Regions from separate parts of the Homo sapiens genome. Here regions 2, 3, 4, 5, 6 and 7 are each linked to region 1. The links are contacts of gene promoters, found by promoter capture Hi-C in blood cells and fetal thymus (Javierre and others, 2016). All regions are on one chromosome and are shown on one strand. Each heading gives the region's core, a stretch centred on a gene start or on the middle of the fragment in contact. The rest is flanking DNA. Distances are from core to core; before and after follow the strand shown. Region 1 holds the start of SELENOK (selenoprotein K). Region 2 overlaps RFT1 (RFT1 glycolipid translocator homolog). Region 3 has its middle 8.2 kb from the start of PRKCD. Region 4 overlaps PRKCD (protein kinase C delta). Region 5 holds the start of TKT (transketolase). Region 6 overlaps DCP1A (decapping mRNA 1A). Region 7 overlaps DCP1A (decapping mRNA 1A).

Region 1 (3,701 bases), core at 523-3,022:
AGATATAAAAGACAATAAGGCAGACAGGATTCCTGACCTCTTACGTCTTATATTTTCTTGAAGACAAGAGACAAATCAATTATCAGACAGTTTCACAATGTGAATTACTATGAAGAAAATAAACACGGAGATGAGTGGCCAGGGAAGGGCACCCAGAAGTGGTGACAACTAAGCAGAGGGCTAAAGGATAAAATGAGCTGGATGTGCAAGGAGTCCGAGGAAGAGGGTTCCAGGTAGAGGGACAAGTATGGGCAGAGTCCTGGAGGTATCAGTAAAACCCGGGGTGTTCACAAACTAAAACAACAATGTTGCCAGAGCATAATCTGGGTGGGGGTGTTCATAAACTAAAACAACAATGTTGCCAGAGCATAATCTGGGTGGGGAGATGTGGCTGGAAGTACAGTGAGAGGAGCAATCAAGAGGACAAGTCACCTTGGGCCTGCAGGCCATGACAAGGAACTGGATTTTAAGAGCAATAGGAAGTCACTAAATTTTAGTGTCCAAAAGGTTTTAGGCAAGGGAACGAGATGATCTCCGTTTTAAGATCGATCTTGCTACAGTTTGTAAAACTGCCTAAGGATGGTAAAAGACTGAACCTGAGATTTCATTTAGAAGGAAACTAGCGTAGAGCAGGTGAGAGATGATGGTGGCATGGTCTAGATTAAGAAAGGCCCTTGGGAAAATTAACGGCCCTGCCCTAATATTTTTGCAGAAATGATCCTTTATGATTGTGCTGCACAAATCCCAAATGAGGTGAAGGATGTTGTCTTGTCCTATTATGAACTTTTCTGGGGAAAATGCTCTCTCCAAAATCAACATAAAATTAGATCTTTGTCAGTTCTAAGTATTAGAACATAAAATCTTAACCAAAGTTGTTAAACTCAAAATAGATTTTCAGCATGTAATTTTCATTTTCTGGAAGGTGATTAGGAATCTTTCCAAAGAGATGACACATGGCTTGAGAACTGGGGGCGGGAAGTCAAAGGAAGCAGCCATTAGGTCTCCACGCTGAAAGAATAGCTAAGTGCAGAGGCCTTGAGAAGGGAATGAAATGGCCACGTTCAAGGAACAGAGGCAGCCCACTGGCTGTAGCAGAGTAAATATCCATGGTATGTGGTCCACATTTACTGAATGTCCAAGACATGTCTTCTAATTCGTCTGTCACCAAAGTGGTCATAAGCAGTCGCCATCAATAAGAAACAAGCAGAGAAAGGGCCTACAGTTCAATTTATTTTTCAGTTGCCTCACAAAAGGCTAAGAAAAACTTAGTTTCTGGTGAACCCAGGTAGACATGCTCATTTTAAAGAGAATGAATATATCTAGGAAGAGCCTGGCAGTATATTCCCAAAGGCGTGACAATAAAGTTCCTTAACGTGTAGTCAGCACCCTCAAACGTCAACACGTCTGGAAAATTCGGAAGCGTTTCCTCCTGTCAGCGGCCCTTCAAGCTACCTCATACAGGGCAGCCTCTCCTACCCAGACCCGGAGCCTATCAATCGACGAGAAAACAGCTTCCCCTCACTGGGCGGTGCGAACCAACTCTGCACGATCAAGTCGGATAGAGGACTGGCAACCGCGGGCACTACAGGGCAGTCCTTAACGTCATATCCGGTTGTCAGCTCGGCCGCCTCCGCCTAACCAGAAGTCGCAGATGTGACGATGCAAAAACGCCCGTCGGGGGCGCGTCTCTTTCAGCAGCCAATGGGCTCTGCCCACCTTCGTCCTCGTCAGCATTTTGTCTAATCGCGGCCTGTGACGCTCGAAGGGCGGGGAGCAGAGGGAGATACAGAAACCGACAGGGGCCAGGCGCCCGGTGGCTCCGAAGCGGGGAAGTGGGACAAGATGGTTTACATCTCGAACGGTAAGTTGAGAGCGGGCTGTGGCTTCGACCGGTGACTTGTAAGATCGGACTCCAGGTTCCTTTCATCGTCGCTCGCTGAGTCTTGAGCCCGGTGCGGCTTCCCCGGGCTTAGCGCCCCGCGGCCGGGCGGAGCTGGACCGAAGTCGCCTCGGCTTGCGGCGCGTCAGCCGATGGTCTCTGAGCCGGCAGTCGGGGGCCGAGGTCCCGCCGGCCTCACGTTGAGTACTGGGAGCCCTGCAACCCCGCCTTCGTGCAGCAAGCGCTTGATTGTGGATTTGCGAGGGTGGTCTTTCCTCTCTCGGGTGTCGGTATCCTTAAAACTAGTAAGGACAATGATGCCGACGCTGTACACGTAGCGCTTGTGCCCTGGACAGTGTTTCAGTTATTTGCTTATCGTCACATTCAATCCTGTTTTACGGGTGGAAACTCTGAGGCTCAGATAGATTAAATAGCTTGCCTGGGCTATTTAAGTCACAGAGGTAACTTAATGGCTGAGTCGGGATTCGATCACAGGTAGGCTGACGTCAGCGTCCTTGTTATCTGTTATGCTGCCTCTGTCTACAACGTGTAAAAAGACCGAGCCGACCTAGGATGATAATTAGATGAAAGCTTTGCATAGGCTTTTTCCCCAGGAAAGGGTAGCTAGTCAAACATGGAATTTTTTGCTCGAATTTCAAGGGGCATGGGAAGAAGTACTATCTTCCCCTAGGAGCAAGTTAATTATTACCGGAATGGAGAATCCGAGAGACTTAATTCTGCGAACCCACAAAGAAGATGACCGGAAAGGAAGGACATGACTGTGTCAGATCAGTGCTAGAGCTGCCTGCCCACCTGTTTGACTCAGGTGAAATTCTTTGGTACAGTCTTAACAAGGAGTTGTGGATCATTGGAACTAGGTCTTGGTTCTATTTGAGTCATCTGTTTTTCTCCAGAGACGAGTAAGGTAGTCAGTGAGGAGCCTTCTGGCTGACTGCACTTTTGCATTTCTTGACTTTTAAAAATCTCCCCTTCTCATCTCCCACTTAAAAATCTTTGAAACAAGTAGATTGATGGACACTACAGAAAAGCATCAAAATTTCATCTTAGTTTTGGGCGCTTTCAGACTTTAGTCTGTTTTATAGCCTGTTTTATAGCCTTTGTGATATAAGCTTAAGGCTGGAAGCTTCTGTATGAATTATTGAATAATTCCTTGTATTTGTTGTGTCTTACTGTGTTCGCATTATTTCATTTGGTCCACATAAGTAGCCGATTAGGACTCTTTATCGTACTTTAAAAGTTGAGAAACACAACTGCATTCAAACACCTTACTTCTCTCTGGGGATATTGGTGGAAGGGACATTCTGCCTTAAGAAAGGGAAAGTGGAAAAGCAAGATAGAATCACAGAGGAAGAAATGACAGGTTCCAATTAGATCCACCTTCTTAGGACTGTATTATCAGCACTTGACAAAATCTTTCTCTTGCTGTCAGATGACTTTTTTTTTTCCAAAAATCTTATGTGATGGCTAGCCCTGGAATACTTTTTGTTGGAGAAAGAAAATGTCACATCAGCCAACGAAGCAGAGCTAGTAAGAGGCAGAGAACTAAGCCTGTCACCCACCCTCTAAACTTTTGTAGCCCCTTGCTCTCAGTAGCACAGTGAGAGCTTAGATCCAAGTGGGTATCTGAAATTAAGCTGGTCAAGAAAAGAGGAAAAGTAAACCCTCATGGAGTGGGTAGAGGTGAGTGGGGTTAACTCTTGGGATAATGGAAAGGAGAGGTAGTTGACAGTTACTCTTCCCCGAAAATATTCTGACATCTTGATTTGCAAGGCTGAAATATAGTGTACCAACTTATGTTGTA
Region 2 (3,701 bases), core at 697-3,196, 780 kb after region 1:
AAGAACCTAACATCAACCAGGCATGGTGGCTCATGCCTGGAATCCCAGTACTTTGGGAGCCGAGGTGGGAGGATTGCTTGAGCCAGGAGTTTGAGACCAGCCTGGGCAATGCAGCAAGACCCTCATCTCTACAAAAATTTTAAAAATGAGCCAGGCATGGTGGCACACACCTGTAGTCCCGGCTATTCTGGAGGCTGAGGGGGGAAGATGGCTTGAGCCCAGGAGTTTGAGGTTATAGTGAGCTATGATCATGCCACTGCATTCCAACCTGGGTGATAGAGTGAGACCCTGTTTCTAAAACAAAACAAAACAAAAAACCAAACACCTAGTCTAAATATTCTGGGATCCCAGGGTGCCTACAAGATAGAGGAGGGGGCCCCAGAGAGAACTGTGGGAGGTAGAAAAACAGGAGTCAGAGGATACCGAGCTCCCTGGCTGCCTTGCTCTTCCATTTTGTGCTCAGCTCCCTGGCTTTGAGGCCACCTGTCTCTTAATAGGTTGACCTCTACCCTACCTAAGTGTTTCCTTGTCCTTAGGAAATGGGCCATTTGGTGCCGCTGGGAGTTTTATTTATTTATTTATTTTTGAGCCAGATTTTCGCTCTGTCATCCAGGCTGAAGTTCAGTGGTGCCATCTTGGCTCACTGCAACCTCTGCCTTCCAGGTTCAAACGATTCTTGTGCCACAGCCTCCCAAGTAGTTGAGATTACAGACACGTAGCACCACGCCCAGCTAATTTTTGTATTTTTAGTAGAGATGGGGTTTTTGCCATGTTGGCCAAGCTGGTCTCAAACTCCTGGCCTCAAGTGATCCACCCACCTCAGCTTCCCAAAGTGTTGTGATTATAGGCGTGAGCAACCTCGCCTGGCCTGGAGTTTTAGAAGAGTCATATCAGAAATTTTATTTTCTCCGTTCCTCTGTCATACCCATTCTGAGTGGTTTACCTGACCTGCGAAGGCTAAATTTCTTTTGTAATGCAGAAGGGCAGCTCCTATACTTTGTGTAAAAGGGCCCTGGATGGCTGAACATAGCATTACAATGTGCAGTATATGGAGCAGAATTTCTTCTGCAGCCTGGCATGCTTTAGACAGTTTTTAAGGAAAGAACAAACTGTGAGCTGTACGTGTTAGCTGTGGTCAGTGTACTGTGTGGGCCCCCAAGGGACAGCAGCAATTCTTTAGGGGTCTCAGTATATGAGTCTTGGGCAGGCCCTTACAGACTTTGGCTTTGTGTTTAGTAATGTAAATTCTTCTCCAGTGTTTGTGAGATGCCTTCTGTGTGCTTAGCATTGGATGAGGATTCAGTGGAGACTATCCAAGTTGGGATTTAGAGACCAGATTGCATTTGCCTCTCATGTAGCATTGCATTCTTAGACTTGCAACGCCTGTGATGTTTTTGTTTTGTTTTGTTTTCTCTTCTAGGCGTTTATAAACTGGAAAGAGGCTAAACTGACTTGGAGTTTTTTCAAACAGTCTTTCTTGAAACAGATTTTGACAGAAGGTAAGTAGACGGTCACTCTGAATCGTCGGGAGACCATAGTAGAAGGGGATTTCATAGGACTGCCAATTACCTGGGTCCAGACCACCTGTCCAGAGCCTCTGGGGCAGAAGAATTTCAGAAATGGGAGGAGGGGGCTTAATACGGAGAGAGAAACCAACGTCTGTTTAGTTTGATGCTTTACTTAGTGGTCTAATTTAAATCTCTCCACAGCCTTATAAGAAACATATTGTTCCCCTTCATCATGGATGAGGAAACTAAGGGTCAGTGAGGTTGCAGAATTTCTTTAGGGTTTTATAGTAACAAGGAACAGCTTAACTGGGATCCAGGTCTAACTCCAAAACCCCATGTTATATGATTTTTATGAATTTATTATGAAAGTATTATATCAGTTACATAAAAGTATTTTTATCATTTTTTTTTTTTTGAGATGGAGTCTTGCTCCGTCGCCCAAGCTGGAGTACAGTGGTGCTATCTTGGCTCACTGCAAGCTCCACCTCCCAGATTCATGCAATTCTCCTGCCTCAGCCTCCTGAGTAGCTGGGACTATAGGTGCCCACCACCACACCCAGCTAATTTTTTTGTATTTTTAGTAGAGACGGAGTTTCACCGTGTTAGCCAGGATGGTCTCGATCTCCTGACCTTGTGATCCGCCTGCCTCAGAGTGCTGGGATTACAGGCGCGAGCCACCACACCCAGCCTTTTTATCATTTTATATCATTTATTTATATCATTTTATTTTCTTCTTCTTCTTTTTAAAAATTATGTCAATTCCCTAATCCTGGATTTATTTTCTTAAACAACAAAATGCACTTGTATGAGAGTTTGGTCAGACTTTGGTCCTTTCAGTTTACCTACGACAGAGCTCTCAATGTGGAGGGCCAGCAAGGGGCTGGAAGCACATTTAGTTTTTGTATGTATATGTGTTGGTTTACTTATACCCAGCTTTAATTTAAAAAGTGAGATTTAAGACAGCTGTAAGTTGCTGAAGGTAGTAGTTTCTCTCTTCATATATATTTCATATCCATATACCTATTACTGAATGTATTTTTAATCTTTTCAAAAATTTTCTTTTAATTATAAAATATAGTCCCGTTAGAAAAAAATAAGAAAATAGAAAAAATAATACTAGCATTCTAATACAACTGTTATTATCTTGTTATTTTATTTCCCCCCCATCTGTATTTTTTGTTTATTATGTCTCCAAAAGAAAGCAACTCCCCCTATGCCTCGCTTTCCCCATCTGTGAATAAGGGATAGGACCAGGCAGTGTCTGAGGGCTCTCTGATCTTTGAGAGTACACACGTTTCCAGCCTAACCTTATAACTTTGCTATTACAAAAATGAAACCGTTCCGAGGCCTTCTCGGGGAAGGGAGGGTCAGAAGCCTCAGAAGAGCTGAGTGAAGGGCCTGAGCACTTAGCTCCTGGGGAGCAGAGACTGTGCCGTTCACTACTGCCTCCCTGTGGCCTGGTACAGGAGGGCTATTCAGCATGTATTTGTGAATGGGGTAAGAAAAGCAACAACGTAACTATTGTGAAATGTGTATGATGATAGTTCACATTGTTGTAAGAACAGGAAAATCGGTGGAGTGAGTTTTGGAAAGGACGGTTGCTCATATGCATTTTTTTCCTTCCAAGGTTTTAAGAGCAGTTTTAATAAGTTTGAAGGAATGGATCCAGTCCAAGTGATGGCCCTAAATTGGTTTTCTGGATTGCAGACAACACATGTCTCTAGACATGTCTTTGCAGCAGCTGGTTTAAGTTTACTGCAAACTAAAGCCTCCAGAGCTCGACCTGAATGTGGTGCCAGGAGCCTGCTCCATGGTTGGATCCCCCTAGCCTGACTCCCTGACTGGCAGAGTGCCATTAGGAACTTCTCAGGGCCTCCATCTCCTTGGCTGTGAAATAAGGAAGTTGCCTGACTGAGATCCTCAGATTCGATATATTTTTAAAACTACAGCTCTAAAAAAGTTGAAATCCCTGGTGGTTTTTTTTGTTTTTTGTTTTTTGTTTTTGTAGATAGGGTCTCACTCTGTCACCCAGGCTGGAATGCAGTGGTGCAAACACAGCTCACTGCAGCCTTGACCTCTCGGGCTCAAGTGATCCTCCCACCTCAGCCTCCCAAGTAGCTGGGACTACAGGCAAGGCACCTACCATTACGCCTAGCCAATATTTTAATTTTTTTGTAGAGACAGGGTCTTGTG
Region 3 (3,701 bases), core at 743-3,242, 740 kb after region 1:
AGCTTCTGACATTTATTAATAGTTGTGCTAGGGTGGGCACTGGAACTGAGTCCTCAGCTTCAGGTACCAGGCCCAGGATCACAGGGGTCTCCAGGTATGGAGAAGGTCTGGGACACAGCCGGGGGGCCTTGTGAAAATGATGAACTAGAATTTCAACTTGCCCTCGTGTTTTACAACCTGGATATCTGGGAAGTTCATGCTGATGTCTGCCCTAGCACCCTCATGTTGCTAGAGAAGACCTGCTGGTCTGTCTGCTGGAGGGGAAGGGTGGCTCCCTGGTGTGTGGGCTGCTCCAACCCTAGGGTACCTCTCTGGAGGGAGAGCTGGAGGGCTGCATGGGGAGACTTGGGGGAAGTGCCAGTGGGTTTGAGTGCTGGGCTGCAGGGGCTGTGGCGGGAGTACTCTGTGGAATCTGACTTTGGGTTCAGGTGTGTGCTCCTAGGTGCCAGCTGATGTGTATGTGTGTCAGTGGTAGGGGATACTTGGAGGCAAGGGGGGTAATGGAAATGCCAAGTCTTCCCTCCTGTTCCTCAAGCACCCTCCTCCCACCCCACCCACACCAAGCCACTGGAATCCGGAGGAGAAGGCCCCAAGGAAGCTTCCCCCACTCCCCAGACTCTGGAGAAGGCAGGCAGCAGCGGAACCACAGCCTCCGTGGGTGTGCTCTGTGGGTGTGCACAGCATAGCCATGGTGCAAAGGAAGAAAAAATGAACTTTCTTCCCTCGGGCCAAAGCCTTTCTCTGAGAGAGGGTGGGAGGGGAAAGGATTCCCAGCCCCTGGGCAGGATCCCAGTGGGCCTGCGCTGGGCAGCCTTCTGCCCTGGACCCACTATCAACCTTCTGCACACACGATGTTCTGCACCCCAGCCAGGCCCCAGCTCACCGCAGAATCTTGCACAGATCTCTCTCCCCTTGGTGCCTCACACTCCCCATCCTGACTTCTGAATTCATTTGTTTGTCCCCATGCCATCACCTTGGCCTGGGCTTCCAGTGTCCCTTGTCTGGCCATCTGTGATGGTCTCCTCTGTTCAGAATACCACCTCCCCACCTCCAGCAATTCTTTTCCTTCACAGCAGCCACATAATCCTCCTAAAGTGTCAAGGACTACTCACTCCCCAGCCCTGAGGCTGACCATGGATCTCTCAGAATAAAGGTCAAACTTCTACTGTGGCCACCTGGCCCAGTGTGACTTAGCCTCTGCCGCCTGTCCCCCTGCCAGCCCAGAACTCCAGGAATAGGAACGTCTTCCAGTTCCTACCAGACAACATCCTTCAACTTCTCACCCCTGGGCCTTTGCCCATGCCCTTCCCTCTGCTTAGCACACCATGCCTAGCTAACTCCTCTCAGTCTTCTGGTAGATTCTAGCTTAGTTACCTCCTCCTCCAGGAAGCCTCCCTGGCTAACCTCTTAAGCCAGGTTAGGTAGTGCTCCGACATGAGGGCAATGTGTGTTTTTCATCCCACAACACAATCCAAGACCTCCTTCCTCCCTCTGCCTCCCCACCCATCTATGTGTGGCTGCCAAGCCACAGTCTGATGCTCCATTTCATCTCCCAGTTCACTGAGGAAGACAGAATAGGGTTACCAGGAGGAAGTGAGGGCAGGGGATGACCGGGGACATCAGGATGCCTCCTACATCCCTGTCCTTCACGTGGGAGCTGGTATCACTGACTGTCCCCCAAATGTGCCTCCCCTGGATTGCCTCAACCCCACACCACCACTGATCCAGGTCCCCTGGCTATCCCCAGCTTTGAGGGAACCCTAGAAGCTGAGGGGCAGGCCAGCTTCCCAGATCTTGTCTGCCAGGGGGCCCAGGTGGGTGTAGGGTGAAACTTCTGGAAGAAGGCTAAGCGCTGAAGTGCCTACCAGGCTAGGGTAGGCCTGGGCAAACATTAGTGAGCAAGTTTGTGTCCAGGTAGTGAGTTGTGGCAACACTGAGGCTTCCACGGGCCCTCGGTGGACACACACAATGCCAGTGAGCCTGCGGAGACGCTGGACCCTCAGGTAGAGGCCTGCTCAGCCATGCCTCTGACTGGCTGCAGGATCCTGGCAGGGCCTTGCCCCTCTCGGTCTCTGTGGCTGCAGCTACCCAGAAAAGGTGATGGGACAGTAGATACTAATTTACCTCTGCTACCAGGGAGAGGCTGAGTGATTAAAAACCGCCTATCAGGACAACCTGCAGAGTAAGAGCAACCCCAGTTTACAGTTGAGGAAGTCAAGGCTCAGGGAGGCAAGCCCAAGGCCAGGTAGCAGGGCCAGGCCCGACGTCTGTGCGAGGCTGGACGAAGGTCAGGACGAAAACCTGGTGGCTTCAGAGGCAGGTGTGCCCAGGCTGCAGGCTTCTCCTCCTGGCTCAGCCTGCTCTAACTGTGTGACCTCAGGCAGGTGGCTCAGCTTCTCTGAAACACGATGGGAGGATGATGAAAGACCCAACGGTCAGTGGTCACATGGACTGACTGATGGAGCAAGGGAGAGGAGGAAGAAGATGCCTGGCTTCCTTGCCGGTTGAGCACAGGGTCTGATGGGAGGATGGACAGGAGTGGGCAGCCACCTCATTGCTGTCTAATTGCCTACACCTGGGGTAAAGCAGGGATTCCCGTCCATCCCAGAGACGAGGAAACTGAGGCTCAGGTGAAGCCCGGCCCAAGGCCACACAGGTTGTTGCAGGGCGCTGAGGCAGGAGTCCAAGACCTGGTGTGTTCACGTGTCCTGCGGAGGGTCTCAGCCCCTTCCCTAGCCGAAGACGGATGCTGCCCTGGGGCCAGCTCTGCTGCCTGGTAGTCAGTTCTGACAGGGACGTGGCCAGGACAACGTCTCAGGAAACTGGAGCCGGGGTGGACATTCTGCAAGATCTGCTTGCAGGGGACCAGATGGTGACCTGGACTTCGGCCCATGGCCCACCAGAGGAAGGGAGGGAGTCCCACAAGTACCTGTTTTCCTCTGACACAGAGGTTCTGGGCTGGAGCCTCCCTGCTGTTGCATGCCTGTGTGACTGCCCTCCAGGGTCCCCTCTTCCTCTCCTCATGCCTGAGGGGCAGCCCAAGCCCCTGAGCCTGAGTCCGCTGAGGGAGTCAGAATGCATGAGTGAAAGGGCCTATTCTTACGGAGGTGTTGAAAGTGGTGGCCAAGGTCAGGAGTGTCCTGGGGCTACTGGGGGCTGGTCTTCTGGCAGGGAGCTCAGCCACTCAGCTATGTGACCCTGGGCACATCACCTTCCCTCTCTGGCTTCCACTCGCTGCTAACAGAGGCTCATAGAGAGTAGACAAGAGGAGGGCCTAGCACCGTGCCTGGATCAGAGCGAGTGCTCAGTGGATTATTGCCAGCTTTGTTATTATGATTTAATTTGTTAACCTCAGGGTGTATTTTAGGGTAGGACAGGAAAGCTTGCATGCCTCAAGCCCTCTGTATAAAATCTAAGGCATGGCTTCATATGGTGGCTCATGCCTGTATTCCCAGCACTTTGGGAGGCCGAGGAGGGCAGATCATTTGAGGTCAGGAGTCTGAGATCAGCCTGGCCAACATGGTGAAACCCCACCTCTACTAAATACAAAAAATTAGCCGGGCGTGGTGCCGCATGCCTGTAATCTCAGCTACTCAGGAGGCTGAGGCACGAGAATCACTAGAGCCCGGGAGGCAGAGGTTGCAGTGAGCCAATATCATGCCACTGCACTCCGGCCTGGGTGACAGAGCGAGACTCTGCCT
Region 4 (3,701 bases), core at 673-3,172, 720 kb after region 1:
GGGGGGCTGGAGGAGAACGGAGGCTGCAGGGACCTGTTGGCTGGGGGCCTTCGATCTGAGGGGTCAGCAGGAGCATAATGGCCTGCCCTGCCAGAGGGTCTGGAAGGTTCAGAGGGGCAGGACTTGGGAGCCTGGCTGTCATCGGCTCACATCCACCTCTGCCAGCTTGTGTGGGGTAGGGCCTCCTTGGAGGGAGGCCACCAGGCACAGGCCTCGAGTCACCAGCCAGCCCTAGGATATGAGGAGTCCTGGGCTCAGTCAGAGGGCGGTGCCCCAGGTACCCCTGAGAGAGGAACAAAGGCCCCTTCATGGCAGGAGCCAGAGAGCCAGATCCTGTGAGGACAAGGGGCCTCTGTGAGGAGCCAGGGTGGGGGATGCAGCCGGGCCTCTCCACGAATAACCACACGTGTGCACACAGGCACACTCGCCAACCCAAACAGCACATAGGGAGCCCCACTCGACATTAGACACACACGCACACAGTTGGAGCCACAGGTACGTACACACACTGCTGTGATGACACAGGGGCACACGTACACACACACACACACACACACAGAAACACACATGCACTCACCGGCTCTCACATCTCAACAGATACCCGGGCCCACACAGACCACACCCGACCACATAGGCTCCACACGCACGTGGAGTGCCACAAGCTGTGATGTACACACTGGCACAGAGATGCTCCAGGCAGACACAGAAACAAACATACAGTCCTGGAAGGACCCCACATCCCTGACTAGAGTCTGGCACCATGAAGTCCAAATGCAGCTTTTTCCACCACAGCCCCCAGGCACAATGGCTGGGGAATGGAGGAGGGGCAGAAGGGCAGCTGGTGTCAGGCTAGGCTGGGCCTTTCCACCCAGGGAGACGAAGAAAGTCCCTCTTGATCCAGAGCAAAGTCTAAAGTGTGTAAGGGAAGGAGTGGGCTGGTCAGGCACATCACTGGGCAGGCCTCCGCCCGCCCGCCCACCTGCCTGCAGGGCCCTGAGGCTATGGTGGAGGTTGAAGGTCACAGGTGGCAGTCACAGGCCTGGCGCGCAGGGGGAGGGGAGGGCTTGAACCTATGTTGGTAGGGCAGCAAGCCGGGCACCCCAGGAGCAAGTTCCTTGAGCTCCAGGCTCACTGTGCAGAAACCGAAAGAGAGGTTGAGCAATTCAACCAAAGCCACAAAGCCAATGGGGCAGACCCAGGGGGAAGTGGGGAGAGAACTTCCAGCTCTAGTCCTAGAACTGCCCATCTGGCCTCCAATGGGGTGAGGGTATGTGTTTGGAGATGGGAACAGCTCCTCCATCAGCCCCCAGTACAAGAGCCCTACTCCTTAGCCCTTCTTTCTCCCACAGAGTTCCCACGATTTTCCAGATGGTTTACCATTGGAAACAATCGTTTTGTGTTTGGGAGAAGGCAAGATGGCCACCTAACCCTTTTGCCAGTCATCCCCAGGATCTGGGCAGGATCCACATGATGCTTCCCCACTTTGGGGATATTGAGAAAGCTGGGAGAGAGGCAGGACCATCCCGCATGGTGCGCCATCCCACAGCAGGCAGCGGACAGAGGAACCGGCGAGCTTGGACCTAGACAGGCCTAGCTCAGATCTGCTGCCTGGGTGCTCCGCGATCTTGGCCCAAGTGCTCTGGTGTCTTCCAGACTTCCTTGGAAAGTGGGAAAAGAGGCTCTGTTAAGCCCCCCAGCCGCAGGGTGCCCTGTTCTGGCCTGAGGCTCTGGGCAGAACTGGGCTGAAGCAGGCAGCATGAGTCCACTGGCAGAGGCTGGCCAGCTACTGCCCCTCCCGGGGCTCCAGCCTCCCTGTCTCAACAATGGAGACCTCTAAGCTTTCTCCAGCCCTGACACTGGAGGACCCTGGGATCCTCCTCCCACCCCAACAACCCCAGCCCACAACCTACACCACGCAGACATCTGATCTAGCCTCAGGCCTTGGCGACTGCCTGCTCTGCTCTGCCTGTTTACCCAACACGGCCATAGACATGATCCAAAGCTTCCGGAGCTGTTGTGAAAACAGCGGCTCAGCCACCACAAGCCTGCCCTCCTGGGTGCCTTGGCAGAGACCTTTGAGGGACAGCCATCCCAGTCCTGTTCGTGGGCCTCTCAAATGCTCCCCCACCCCTTAGAAGGCCTGTTGAGCCCTCTCCTCCCCAATCCTGGCTTTAGGCTCCCGTCTCTACTTTGGGCCCAGACCCTCCTGAACTTCAGGCTTGTGGCCCCACCTGCCTCCCTGGCTTCACCACATGAATGACTCCAGAAGAGCTCAAGCCTGCCCACACCAGTCCCCCGCCGTTCCCCTCCCAGCGCTCCTCATCCACTAGGAGTGCACGAGCTCAGGCAGTGGCTCAGGCCAGACAGCTCCCCCTGCTCCCCACACAATAAGGCCATCCCGTCTGCCGCTGCAGCCTGTCCTCAAGTCTCAAATCCTCTTCTCCCACCACCACCATCCCCAGGCTCTGCACCTGTCTTCTGACTGCTCTCCATCCTCTACCCCGGCCCGACAGTCCCCCTGTTCCAGCCACCAGACGGGGCTTTTCAGACAGATTTTGTCACCCCCTGCCCAAGCCCCCAGTGCCTCCCATTGCCCCTCTGACAAGCCCAGACTCCTCCCCTCAGCCTGCTCCATGCAGCCTGCCCCCCGCCACCCCCCTCCCCATCACCGTTACCTCCCTGACCTCTCGGGCAGGCGCTGCCTTTCCCTCATTCCTGTGCCCCAGCCACGCTGACCCCTTTCAGTTCCCGAAGCAGCCAGTTCCTTCCCGCTTAGGAGCCTCTGGGCTTGCTGTTCCGTCTTCCTGCTCCACCCCACCCCACACAGTGGCTCCTTCCCATCGTTCATGTCTCACAGGACACCACACCCCGTGATCTGCCCATTTCACAGACGAGGCAAGTGGGGAACGGTCCAGTCCCTGGCTCAAGTGTGCACAGCCAGTAAATATTGAGCAAGGATTCAACCAGGGTCTGTCTGATGCCTGCAGAAGTCCTGCTCCTAAGCCTTCAGGATACCCTCAACCACACTTCCCGCCCAGGCCCATCCACCTTTCGCTCTCCAGCCCTCAGGCCCCTGCTGTTTGCATCACTGTCCTTACCACTCCTCAACACTCCTCATCCCCAGCCTCTGGGCCCCACACAGTGAAGGCCAATGCTTAGCCCAACCCTAACTGTGCTGACCTTCTTCGTGTCCCTGGGACAGGCTGGGCCCTGCCCCCAGCTGCCATGGGTGTAGGGGGTTTTCTAGCTCCCCCTACTCTTCTAGCTTCCATCAGTCCCAGATGCCCACTCCCTGCCCCAGCCCACAGGCTGACTCCAGGGGTCTGAAGGGTAAGCAGGCTGGCAGGAGGGCTTACGTCCACCCCCTCGTTCCCAGCCAATTCTCCCAGCCTAATGTCCTGCAGGAGGCCAGAGCTGGAGAGGGCCAAGGGGAGCCCTGAGGGGGCAGCAGGCAGCTGCAGACTGCCTTTCCCCTCCCTGCATCCATTTGTCACGAGATCTATTTTCTCCCTTTGAAAGGGAGTGAGGGGGAGAAGAGCAGGCAGGGGCTGGACTGCTGAGTGGGTGGAGCTGCTCCAACAGGAGCTCCTCTCCTCGGAGGGCATGGAACCTACTGAACAAGTAGGGCACTGCCACTGGAGGTAGAATTGAGGGGGATGAGGGAGTCAGAGACCTGGCTCCTCAGCCAGGCTCCACAGCCA
Region 5 (3,701 bases), core at 758-3,257, 640 kb after region 1:
ATTTTCTTTCCATTACTCCTAGGTCCCCAGAGCCATGGTGAGTTCTGTGCCATTGTCAGAGACCAGAGTGATAAGGATGAGTCCCATTAGGCAGATGGGGAAATGGAGTCCACTCCCTTAGGGAGCCACTGCTCTAAGGGCCACAGAGTTGGAAGGCACAGAGCTTTCAAAGGGTTTCAAGGGTTTGCCCTTTTTCCAGACAGTGAGCAGCTTGAGGGCAGAGGTGGCACCTGCCAGGCATCTGAGGGTGGCACACTGTGGGGCCCCCCTCCAATCCTAGCCCATAGCCCTCACCAGCCAGACACCATAGGGCCAGCCTCTGCGGGCTGGGCCAGCAGGAGCCAGGTGCTATGGGATGCCATACTTAGGGTCTGATTGGGCATCTGGGGGTCAGGCCAGCAGAGGAGCACCTGGAGGCGAGCTGGGGGACTCACTCAAATTCAGTCAATCGCCTCATGAGCCAGAGCTCTCTGAGTATGGGCAATGCAGGGAGGACACAGAGGACACAGGGCGGCCACTGGTGCCTCTTGGATCTCTCAGGGTTTTAGCTCCCTGCCCAGCCATCCGTTTGAGGGTCTTGCCTTTATCTTTCCTCTGTCAAATGGAGCTTCTTCCTCTGTAAAATAGGCATTGTAGGCAGTATGTACCTCACTGGCCAAGTGTGGTGGGCAGATTGAATGAAACAGTGTCTGTGATGAAAGTCCCCTCCCTAATCCCACTCTGGGGAGCTTCATACCTCTGGGAACCATGGGGTCTGATAACAGTAGTGGTGGGTGCCCCTGTCCCTACAGACCTGGAAGCAAACCCAATAATCTCCCTAAAAGTCAGTAGTGTTTCTAGGCCCTAATAATTTGTAAAGGATCTTCCCCTAGTAATTTCTCAGTTATCATCACCTGGCATTGTCATGGCTACCACTATCCTATTCTCATTTTCAATAATCCCCATCCCCTGTGCAGGGCTCTAAAGCCCTGAGTGGCTGGGCATGGTGGCTCATACCTATAATCCGGCACTTTGGGAGGCAGAGGAGGGCAGATGGCTTGAGCCTAGGAGTTCAAGACCTGCCTGGGTAAAGTGGCAAAACCCCATCTCTACAAAACATACAAAAATTAGCCGGGCGTGGTAGTGTGTACCTATGGTCCCAGCTACTTTTGAGGCTGAGGCAGAAGGATCACTTGAGCCCAGGAGGCTGAGGCTTCAGGCAGCTGTAATCACTCCACTGCATTCCAGCCTGGGTGACCATGGGTGACCCCGTCTCAAAGAAAAAACAAGTTTTTTAATTATTAGAAAAAAGAAATAGGGCCTGGTGCGGTGGCTCACCCCTGTAACCCCAGCACTTTGGGAGGCCGAGGCGGATCACCTGAGGTCGGGAGTTCAAGATCAGCCTGACCAACATGGAGAAACCCCGTCTCTACTAAAAATACAAAATTAGCTAGGTGTGGTGGCGCATGCTTGTAATCCCAGCTACTAGGGAGGCTGAGGCAGGAGAATTGCTTGAACTCAGGAGGCGGAGGTTGTGGTGAGCCAAGATCATGCCATTGCACTCCAGCCTGGGCAACAACAGCGAAACTCAGTCTCAAAATTAAGTCCTGCAGTCTCTTGGGCCTGGGGTTGGTCGGCTGGGGCCAAGCCTGGCACCCACCAGCCTTGTGACCTTGATTGCCCTTGCCAAGCCTCAGTTTGTCCATCTCTAAAATGGGATTCGCCGTGACAAGTCCACGGAGGACTGTGTGGAGGAGGGAGACTGAGAGGCTTTCGAGTCAGGAGCCCAGACTCGAATCCTGAGTTGTTCGTTATGTTATTATTATTGGTGTGTGTGGTTAACTGCTAACCTCGCAGTCCGCAGCGGCCCAGCGCCTAGGGGAGGGGAGCGGGCAGGAGGCGGCCCCAGGCGGGGCGGGGCTGAAGGCCTGGGGTGATCCGAGCCCCGCCTCCTCCCCCTGCCCCGCCTCTCCCATCCCCGCCCCGCCCCGCCCGGCGACTTAACGCGCCCCCGCCCCGCGCCCGGCCTCGGCAGCCGCCTGTCGCCGCGGGAGCAGCCGCTATCTCTGTGTGTCCGCGTGTGCGCCCGGTCCCCGCCTGCCGCACCATGGAGAGCTACCACAAGCCTGACCAGCAGAAGCTGCAGGCCTTGAAGGACACGGCCAACCGCCTACGTATCAGCTCCATCCAGGCCACCACTGCGGCGGGCTCTGGGTGAGTGCGCGGCGCCGGCCGGGGACGCGGCTCGGGCGGGGCGGGGGGCGTCTGCGGCGGCCAGAGTCGCCGCGGGCTCTGGGTCGCGCTGCGAGATGCCTAGACGAGGAAGGTGGCCCGGGCGCCGTCGGAGGGCGGAGACGCGCGCCTCGCAGGGCCCCGGGCTGCAGGCGGCTTCCGCTGCGCCGCACACTCGCCCTACGCCCGGGCTCGGCCGCGTGGGCCTCTGGTCCTCCGTGCGCCTCAGGCCGGCTCTTCCCCACGCGGATCGCCGGCCGCGCAGCTGCATGGTGGCGCGGGGGATGGGCTCGCGACTCGCCAAGTACCCTCTAGGGTGATGCCGGGAAGGCCACCATTACTGCTGTTCTACAGAACGCGGCCCTCTTAACCCTCTCCACCACCTGGCTGTGTGGGCGCCGCCGGGAGTGTTCCCCCTTCCAGATGGGGAAACGGAGGCTCCGAGTTAGTCAGCTACCCAAAGTTACACACAGGGAGATCTGATTTGAGCCCCAGCAGTCCGACTCTAGAGACCCTGTTTTTAATTCCTCTTGCAGGAGACTCGGGGGCCCGGCCTTCTCCCCACCTCAGACTACGCTCCCCTACCCCTGTCTCCTGCCACCCCTGGGTTGGGTCCGAGTTTGGAGCAGGGGGCTGCTGAGACGCCAGGCAGCGGCGGGGCTGATTGGGGGAAGAGGGGAGGAGGGCGGTGGCACGTGGGTGCAGAACCCTGGGATCCATTGTGAAAAGGAGGTCTAAGATTTGACCTGGGGCGGGAGGAGGCGGAGGGCAAGGAGACTGAGAAGGCTGAGCGCCGGAAGGACGGAGTTCCAGGGCCCTAGCGCCGGGAGTGACGTCCTGGGGCAGGGCCAGCCACCAGGTGCTGTATCTCCCAGGCAGGAGCTGGCGTGCCTAGGCCCCAAGATCCTTCCCTGGCCAGCCCTTTTGGCCCAGAAGGTGGACACCCAAGGAGCCTCCTCTGTAGCGGAGACAGGGATAATTAATGAGGGCCACCGTGCATGCAGCTGGAGGTGTCCAGTGGGGTGGGTGAGGGGGTCAGTCAGTGAATTACTTCAGAGCCTGCTTCCCGCTCTGTAAAGCGGGGACAGTAATGGCACTTAACCACGCTGGGTGGTTTCAAGGACTCCAGTGCTCTACTTGGAGGCTGCTTTGAGGCCACAGTGCCAGCAGTGCTCCGGGCTCATGACAGGGTTGTGAGGGCTGCGTGATGGATGATTTCTCGGGACCTTCCCAAACAAGCTCTGTTTCAGACAGACAAGATTCTGGCTTCTGGCCAATTTCATTCAGGATATATTATTAAGAAGTAAATCTGTTCACCTTTCTGGGTGGATACGCATTCACCCTTTGTGCCTCTAAGACACCCTGTTCTCAGAAGGGATTAGATGTCTTTCAAAGCCCTTCCCCCACCCACTGCCTTGCACACTTTGGACCTGTTAGCTCTCCTGGGTTTGTGTCAGTCTTACCACTTATGTGGGGTATCCCCTGCCTGG
Region 6 (3,701 bases), core at 472-2,971, 580 kb after region 1:
CCAAACTTTCCACAGAGGATTTGTTCAACTATGCAGCCTTCCTGTGTCTTGGTGGAACTGTCAGTTTTCATATTTACTTTAGCAATTAGTTTGACTGATTTTGAAATACTTCAAGGGAAAAAGGGAGAAACCTTAGTGGAGTTTGTAATGCATCTCTGCCAACTCTAGGAAGGAATTCTGTATTTTTATCCTTCTGAAGGGTAAATATTGGCACTGTTAATGAGACGGTGAAATGGTAAGTCATTTATTTCTGAAATGAGGTAACTGAAGTTCTGTGTTATATATTGCAAGAATAATGTAATCGGCTGGGCGCGGTGGCTCAGGCCTGTAATCCCAGCACTTGGGGAGGCCTAGGGCAGATCACGAGGTCAGGAGATTGAGACCATCCTGGCTAACACGGTGAAACCCCATCTCTACTAAAAATACAAAACATTAGCCGGGTGTGGTGGTGGGCGCTGTAGTCCCAGCTACTCCGGAGGCTGAGGCAGGAGGATGGTGTGAACCCAGGAGGTGGAGTTTGCAGTGAGCCGAGATCACACCACTGCACTCCAGCCTGGGCGACAGTGCGAGACTCCATCTCAAAAAAAAAAAAAAAAAAGAAGAATGTCATCATGTGACACTCTTAGTGTATCCTTGGAAGATGAACACCAAAAGAAATCTTGGGTCAGATTTTGTTTCAAGAGGCCTTTCTAAAACCTTGTTCTTCTCCTCTAGTGTGGTAGAAGAGGAGACACGGCGATCCCAGCAAGCTGCTCGGGACAAACAGAGTCCCAGCCAGGCCAATGGCTGCAGCGACCACAGGCCCATCGACATCCTGGAGATGCTGAGCAGAGCCAAGGATGAGTATGAGAGGGTGAGGCTCTCTGGGTACTTGGGTGCTGACCAGGGAAGACCAAAACGGGAGGAGGAGGTCTGCAGGAGACTATTTTACTAGGGAAGCTGGCCTCCAGGGACGGCAGAAATATAAGTTCAAAAAGAGAGCGTGTTAGCACACTCCTGTAATCAGTCCCAGCTACTTGGCAGGCTGAGGAAGGAAGATCACTTGACTCCAGGAGTTGGAGGCTGCAGTGGGCTATGATTGTGCCACTCCACTCTAGTCTGGGCAACAGTGAGACCCTGTGTCTCTCTTTTTTTTTTTTTAAAACAGATGTGTCTTACAATTTTAAACCTAAAACATAAGGAAAGAACTTGCTTACCCCAGATTACTTGTTTTTGGCAGGAAAATTTACAATGCTTTTTTCTATTCCTATAAGATTACTATGGGAGAAGATGGTCTTGGAGTGCAGAAGTTAGCTCGCAGCAGCTAGTTCTGGTAAAGCTTCGTGCCTCTTCTTCACCACTGCAGTTTCTGTTAGGATCCTCAGTGGTCCTAGGAATTTGTTTAGGCTTTGAAAAGTATTCTGATAGTTTGTACCACATAATACTAAAAAATACACTCATGGTCTGTAATTGGTGGTAGATGCACAACCTTCATTAAGCTTCATTTGGAATTTTACCCAAATGAGAGGCTTTTCTGAAATTCACTGTTTTCTTTCTCTTCTGTTGTGCATTTTAGTTTATAAATTAGCTGATAAAATTTTCTCCCAAAAGTTGAATAAAATGGCAATTGTGGTACTTTCGTTAATTTATTCAATACCTGCTTATGAACCATCTACTATGTGCAAGCAGTGGGCATTTCATGGTTATGACTCTCCTGGAATTTTACTTGGCACCTCAAAGCCCCCACACTTCACTGGAGTGAGACAAGCTCTCTACTGCTGAACTTTGTTTTAGCAGAATTATACTGTCACCTTACTCTTCATTAAATATTGAATTAAGTGCTTTCCTTTCATGCCTATTTCACCTCACCAGAACTTCAAGGAACAAAATGTGAAAAAGCACTGTCCAAAAGACCCTGTTTCCCATACAGTTCTGCTATAATACCAGCTACTAAGTTATTAATCAGTGATCCTGAAAAAAGCTTCAAATTGGCAAAACGAGTTAAGGTACTGTTGTTAGCATGACTCTTCCTCCTCCCATCCTCTTGGGACTTTACAGAGCTCAAAACTGAGAGGTCCTGCAATAAGTAAAACAATAACACCAATTCCCAGATTGACTTGACTGCAGGACCATTTTTTGCATACTGCCCTTTAACAACTCAAGAATTTGGAGTTCAGGAAAAAGTTTGAAAAAAGTGTTCTGAAAGATAGTTTCTTCTGACTAAAAATAGGCATGTTCACCATAAACTACATAGACCTTCTACATTCTGATAACAAAGGAAGTCCCACCTCCAGGGTGGAGAAATGTACATGAGAGCCCATGAGAAGTTTCAAGTTTGTACCAAATTCTTCAATGTCTCACAGAGAATTAGGAGGAATGAATGGATCTATGGAAGTTAAATTTGGAGGAGCAGTCACCTCTCTAATAAATTAATCGATTCTTAGGAAACCAAATGAGAACTAACTTCAAGAATGGCTTTCTGATTTAGAAGTTACCTTACATTCCCCTCTTCTACCCTTGATGACAAGCGGATTTTCTACGTACATACTTTGTTCTGTTTGTAGAGCCCTTTCAGTGTTCTCATAGGTACCTAGTAAGTCCAGGGCTCTGTCACTCATCCTGAGTAATAACTGTATCAAGGTACCACACGGGACAGAAACTGTAGGTGCTGCGCACTAAAGCAGATACTCCAGTAAGTGGCCTGGCTTACTCAGGCTGAGAGGTTAAGTAGCCACAACGAGAAAGTAGGAAATAAGACATTAGCTTTGAACACAAAACTTTAAAGGAACTCTAGGGTCAGGTGGGCAATCTAAACATCTGACATTATTTTGAATTATATCAATATTACAAAAGGAATATAGATAGCATGATAGTTTCTGTTTTAAATAAACTTCTTTCACACTATGGAATAAAATATCGTCTATGGGTAGATTAAAATGAAACCCTTTGGGATTTGGTTAAATCTTTGATATTTACTTTATCATGTGTTCTTTCTGATTTTGAAAACTGTCTGCAATAGGTGGAGCTTCTTTGAATTAGAGTTTTGTTCTCTTATCTGCATTTGTCTATCATCTCATCAGATGGAGCTGGTATAAGCAGTGACCCATGAATTCATGGGTCTTGGTGTTTGGATGGGCTCCCTTCAGCTGCCACATTTTTTCAGACGGCCCCTTTGTTTATCTTTAGGTGAAGACTCAGAAGATTGGCAATCAAGGGCAGGGGTGCAAGCTAGGCCTCAGTGTTGGGATTTAATCCTGATTCTGAGTCTCCGCTATCTGCTGAGTATGATATAATGAACGAAATTTCAGACTTTTGAATGAGCACTTGTAATAATGAGACTCTTTTCTTTTTTCAGACAGGGTCTCTCTGTTGCCCAGGCTGGAGTGCAGGGGCACAATCTTGGCCCACTGCAGCCTCTACCTCCCAGGCTCAAGACATTCTCCCATCTTAGCCTCCCAATTAGCCACGACTATAGGCCATGCATCACCATGCTTGGATAATTTTGTTTATTTTTTGTAGAGATAGAGTCTCACTATGTTGCCCTGGCTGATCTTGACAAGCTCCTGGGCTCAAGCTGTCCTCCCGCCTTGGCCTCCCAAAGTGCTGGAATTATAGGTGTGAGACACTGTGGCCAGCCTAGAGACTGTTTGAAAATTAAAAATCTGTATAATAAGCATTTTCTTCAAAAGAAAGATATTGCACTTCTATAATATCTTTTAATT
Region 7 (3,701 bases), core at 646-3,145, 550 kb after region 1:
CATAGTAGATAACATTTCTACAGATTAAATGGTAACTACATATTTTTTTTTCTTCTATTAAATCTAAGGTCAGCTTCCCCTTACCATGGTTTTACCATTGTGAATCGACTAAATATGCACAATCTAGTTGAACCAGTGAATAAAGATTTGGAATTTCAGCTCCATGAACCATTTCTTCTGTATAGAAATGCAAGCTGTGAGTATATCTGTTTTATTATAGTTATTACATTTAAAATTGAGTGACTTTAGTTTCTATCAATCCATTATTTAGGAAGTTTCAAATTACAAAACAAAATATGGTCTCTACTTAATGATTATAAATGAGTCTGTTGGAAAGATCAAACCTTTTAAACTGGGCTCTGAGGCCAGAGGTGGTGGCTCATGCCTGTAATCCCAGCACTTTGGGAGGCCGAGGAGGGCAGATCACTTGAGGTCAGGAGTTCGAGACCAGCCAGGCCAACATGGTGAAACCCCGTATCTACTAAAAATACAGAAAAAAATTAGCCGGGCTTGGTGGCAGGCGCCTGTAATCACTTGAACCTGGGAGGTGGAGGTTGCAGTGAGCTGAGATCGCGCCACTGTACTCCAGCCTGGGCAACAGAATGAGACTGTGTCTCAAAAAAATAAATAAATAAACTGGGCTCTGAAACTGGAAACATTCTTTTGTATATAATTTAGTTTACTATTTCATTTAATAGCACTACATTTCTGTTGTCGGTTTATTAAAATAAGGTTTATGCCTTTGTTTTTTTGCAGCTGTGGACTATCAGCTGCCCATGTCCCTAAGCAACAGAACTTAGTTTGGGACACACAGGATGGGAACAGATACAGATAATTCTTTCCACAAAGAAAGTATTATTATTACTATTATTATTTTCTTTTTTTTGAGACGGAGTCTTGCTCTGTTGCCCAGGCTGGAGTGCAGTGGTGTGATCTAGGCTCATGCAAGCTCTGCCTCCCGGATTCATGCCCTTCTCCTGGCTCGGCCTCCCAAGTAGCTGGGACTACAGGCACCCGCCACCACGCCTGGCTAATTTTTTTGTATTTTTGGTAGAGAAGGGGTTTCACCGTGTTAGCCAGGATGGTCTTGATCTCCTGACCTTGTGATCTGCCTGCCTCGGCCTCCCAAAATGCTGGGATTATAGGCATGAGCCACCACGCCCGGCCAGAAAATATTATTTTTGCCCAGAATAGTGGTGATGGGTTTTTTTTTTTAAGATATTTATTACTTTTTCTACTTTATTTTGTCTGAATATGTTTCTAAGTAAGGTTTTTCTATCTGTTTATTTAATTGAGTGTCTACTGGTTACCAGCACTGAGCCAAGAGCTGTGGTGCTTTAATGTTAACGATACAGTTACCTATGTGGTGTAAGCAGGCAGTTAAGTCAACTGAGACTCAGAGATGCATAACTATTACCCTGTTGGAGAGTTAGGATTATGACTATTCTTCTGCTTTTTAGTCCAGGGTTCTTTCAGGCATTTTTACAATCTCTAATAACGATTGGATGTAGTCAGCAAAGCTAGAGTGGCCCTTCCAAGAAACTACAGTACTAAAAAATATACTTGATTCCAGTGTATTAGTATGGATATTGAAGGTATGGGTGTTTGAGGACAGTTTGTTGGACATTGACTATAGGGATATGAAAACTGGTTATGGTAACAATGATTGTGCTCTAATTGGCATCTAAGGATATAGTTGGAGAAATGTTGCTTCTAACTTAAAAAGTAAAAGTTAATGTGTTTGAATTTCACTTGGCGGGGGGGTAATTGGTCTTGGGGGATGTCTTCAGTATAAAATAGAAAAAGTTACTAAAAATTATACACCTCTTAATTCCCTGAATGAGAAGTAACAAGGCCTATTTTAAAGCTAGAAACCCCCAAGTTCTTTTCCGTAGCACACTTTGAAGTATAAGTGAAATAGGTTCTATCTTTTGACTTCTCAGTAAACTATTTGTCCAGGTAATTACCTCTCAGATTTTAAATTCTGTGGACATATTAGACATGCTTTGTAATAGCTGTAAGTTCAGATGGATTTATTTAAACTAATGTTAACAATGTAATTATTTCAGATTGCTCTTTTCTTTGTACTGAATATTCCATTAAAGGGAAAATTCGGCTGGGCAAAGTGGCTCAACACCTGCAATCCCACGATTTTGGGAGACCGAGGCAAGCAGATTGCTTGAGCCCAGGAGTTTGAGACCAGCCTGGGCAACATGTCAAAACCCCCACTCCACAAAAAAATAGAAAAATTAGCCAGGTGTGGTGTCACACACTTGTAGTCCCAGCTACCCAGGAGGCTGAGGTGGGAAAGTCGCTTGAACCCAGGAGGCTGTCCAGGCTGCAGTGAGCCATGATTGCGCCACTGCACTCCAGCCTGGGCAACAAGCGAGACCCTGACTCAAAAAATGAAAAGAGGGTGGGAGAAATTCTGCAAATGAATATGGATCCAATTTTTTTTTAAGTGAAATAGGCTTAATTCTGTTCTTTACTGCCTGGAAACTTAATCTAGCCATCACTCCTAAGTGGTTTGATTATTAAAGTAGTCAGTAGGGAAAGTTATCCGGACCCAGTTACCATTTAGCATAAACCTGAGATGAATTGTATTATATTTTTTTCACAAGGCAAAAGTCCTGTGAAATTGAAAGTGTGACATAACACAAATGTAATTGAACCATGAGTAACCAGAAGCTAACTAATTAGAGCTTCAGTTGTCTGGAAATATTTTTATAGTTCGTGTGTGGAAGAAATGAAGGCAAATTATAAGAAAACAAGCTAATACTAGGTTTTATTTTCTGAAAATCAAGCAGATATCCAGAGAATAACCTGGGGTCGGCATTAAAATGTCAATATTTTATAACTTTAACTCCACTGTAGTATCATAGGTTAAATTGTTATAGTGAGACCTAAAATCATCAGGAGTATTTATTATGTTAACTAGAACATTCTTGGGGAGAAAGTGCATTAATGCATTTTACTTTAGAAAATTTTCAACTGATTGAAACAAAAGTTTTCTTAGTTGAACAGAAAACTCACTTAACCAGGTCATTTCATTAGGGAAAGTATTTAAAGGAATAGCTGTATTGGGGAGAAGTGATAAGACAACAGAAAATGATTTTGTGAGTGTTAAGCCCTCTCGAGTGTGTGTTTTGTCTACATAGTCTTAAAAGTGGAAAATAGTCTTGTCAGGTCAGCGAGCTATTAAGTTGTTTAGGGATTTGTTCTTTAAATAAAAAGTTAGTATCTGATTATGCATACAGGTAATTATACCTGATTCTATAGCTGCACTTCTGCCATTCTCTTGTGGGAAATACCATCAAGACACCTGACCCATTTAACTCAAGTGACACCTTCATATCCAACTTCTTTCATTCAAATTAATTTTTGGAGTTAATGTACTAGAACAGTGAACCATAACTTTTTTTCAGTTCTAAGTTATTTGTTTTATTTATTTTTAAGAGTTTTTCTTTTTTTTTTTTTTTGAGACGGAGCCTTGCTCTGTCACCCAGGCTGGAGTGCAGTGGCATGATCTTGGCTCACTGCAAGCTCTGCCTCCCAGGTTCACGCCATTCTCCTGCCTCAGCCTCCCGAGTAGCTGGGACTACAGGCGCCCACCACCACGCCCGGCTAATTTTTTCTATTTTTAGTAGAGACGGGGTTTCACCGTGTTAGCTAGGATGGTCTCGATCTCCTGACCTCGTGAT

The links. The method cuts DNA at HindIII sites, captures the fragments that hold promoters and counts their contacts. A CHiCAGO score of 5 or more calls a contact.
Region 2: a contact is called between a fragment that was not itself captured here and the fragment with the promoter of SELENOK in region 1, in 1 of 17 cell types (fetal thymus). The highest score is 5.4, in fetal thymus.
Region 3: a contact is called between a fragment that was not itself captured here and the fragment with the promoter of SELENOK in region 1, in 1 of 17 cell types (fetal thymus). The highest score is 5.2, in fetal thymus.
Region 4: a contact is called between a fragment that was not itself captured here and the fragment with the promoter of SELENOK in region 1, in 2 of 17 cell types (fetal thymus and naive CD8 T cells). The highest score is 7.3, in fetal thymus.
Region 5: the fragment with the promoter of TKT here is called in contact with the fragment with the promoter of SELENOK in region 1 in 1 of 17 cell types (neutrophils); the score reaches 6.3 in neutrophils.
Region 6: a fragment that was not itself captured here is called in contact with the fragment with the promoter of SELENOK in region 1 in 7 of 17 cell types (total CD8 T cells, naive CD8 T cells, total CD4 T cells and 4 more); the score reaches 8.4 in total CD8 T cells.
Region 7: a fragment that was not itself captured here is called in contact with the fragment with the promoter of SELENOK in region 1 in 15 of 17 cell types (non-activated CD4 T cells, activated CD4 T cells, total B cells and 12 more); the score reaches 16.5 in non-activated CD4 T cells.

What each region holds. Positions count from the first base shown.
Region 1 is chr3:53,889,930-53,893,630 of GRCh38, reverse strand. It overlaps SELENOK (selenoprotein K), which reads left to right and starts at 1,772. Exons shown (of 5, transcript NM_021237.5): 1 at 1,772-1,861. The coding sequence starts at 1,843. RefSeq lists enhancers at 1,494-1,793, 1,684-2,584. The HindIII fragment of the contact is 7,183 bases long and covers 1-2,472 here.
Region 2 is chr3:53,109,628-53,113,328 of GRCh38, reverse strand. It overlaps RFT1 (RFT1 glycolipid translocator homolog), which reads left to right. Exons shown (of 13, transcript NM_052859.4): 7 at 1,421-1,499. Among named protein-coding and RNA genes, the nearest start is that of RFT1, 19 kb to the left of the region's middle. The HindIII fragment of the contact is 7,624 bases long and covers 1-3,701 here.
Region 3 is chr3:53,151,147-53,154,847 of GRCh38, reverse strand. No RefSeq gene overlaps it. Among named protein-coding and RNA genes, the nearest start is that of PRKCD, 8.2 kb to the left of the region's middle. The HindIII fragment of the contact is 2,784 bases long and covers 601-3,384 here.
Region 4 is chr3:53,167,795-53,171,495 of GRCh38, reverse strand. The region is part of intron 2 of PRKCD (protein kinase C delta); the gene reads right to left. Among named protein-coding and RNA genes, the nearest start is that of PRKCD, 8.4 kb to the right of the region's middle. RefSeq lists a silencer at 1,175-1,224 and enhancers at 2,421-3,101, 3,102-3,701. The HindIII fragment of the contact is 164 bases long and covers 1,841-2,004 here.
Region 5 is chr3:53,254,328-53,258,028 of GRCh38, reverse strand. TKT (transketolase) reads left to right here and starts at 2,007. Exons shown (of 14, transcript NM_001064.4): 1 at 2,007-2,193. The coding sequence starts at 2,087. RefSeq lists a silencer at 1,721-2,410. The HindIII fragment of the contact is 25,611 bases long and covers 1-3,701 here.
Region 6 is chr3:53,309,393-53,313,093 of GRCh38, reverse strand. DCP1A (decapping mRNA 1A) reads left to right here. Exons shown (of 10, transcript NM_018403.7): 5 at 715-853. Among named protein-coding and RNA genes, the nearest start is that of SNORD38C, 22 kb to the left of the region's middle. The HindIII fragment of the contact is 482 bases long and covers 1,481-1,962 here.
Region 7 is chr3:53,338,639-53,342,339 of GRCh38, reverse strand. DCP1A (decapping mRNA 1A) reads left to right here. Exons shown (of 10, transcript NM_018403.7): 3 at 69-196. Among named protein-coding and RNA genes, the nearest start is that of DCP1A, 7.1 kb to the left of the region's middle. The HindIII fragment of the contact is 5,444 bases long and covers 1-3,701 here.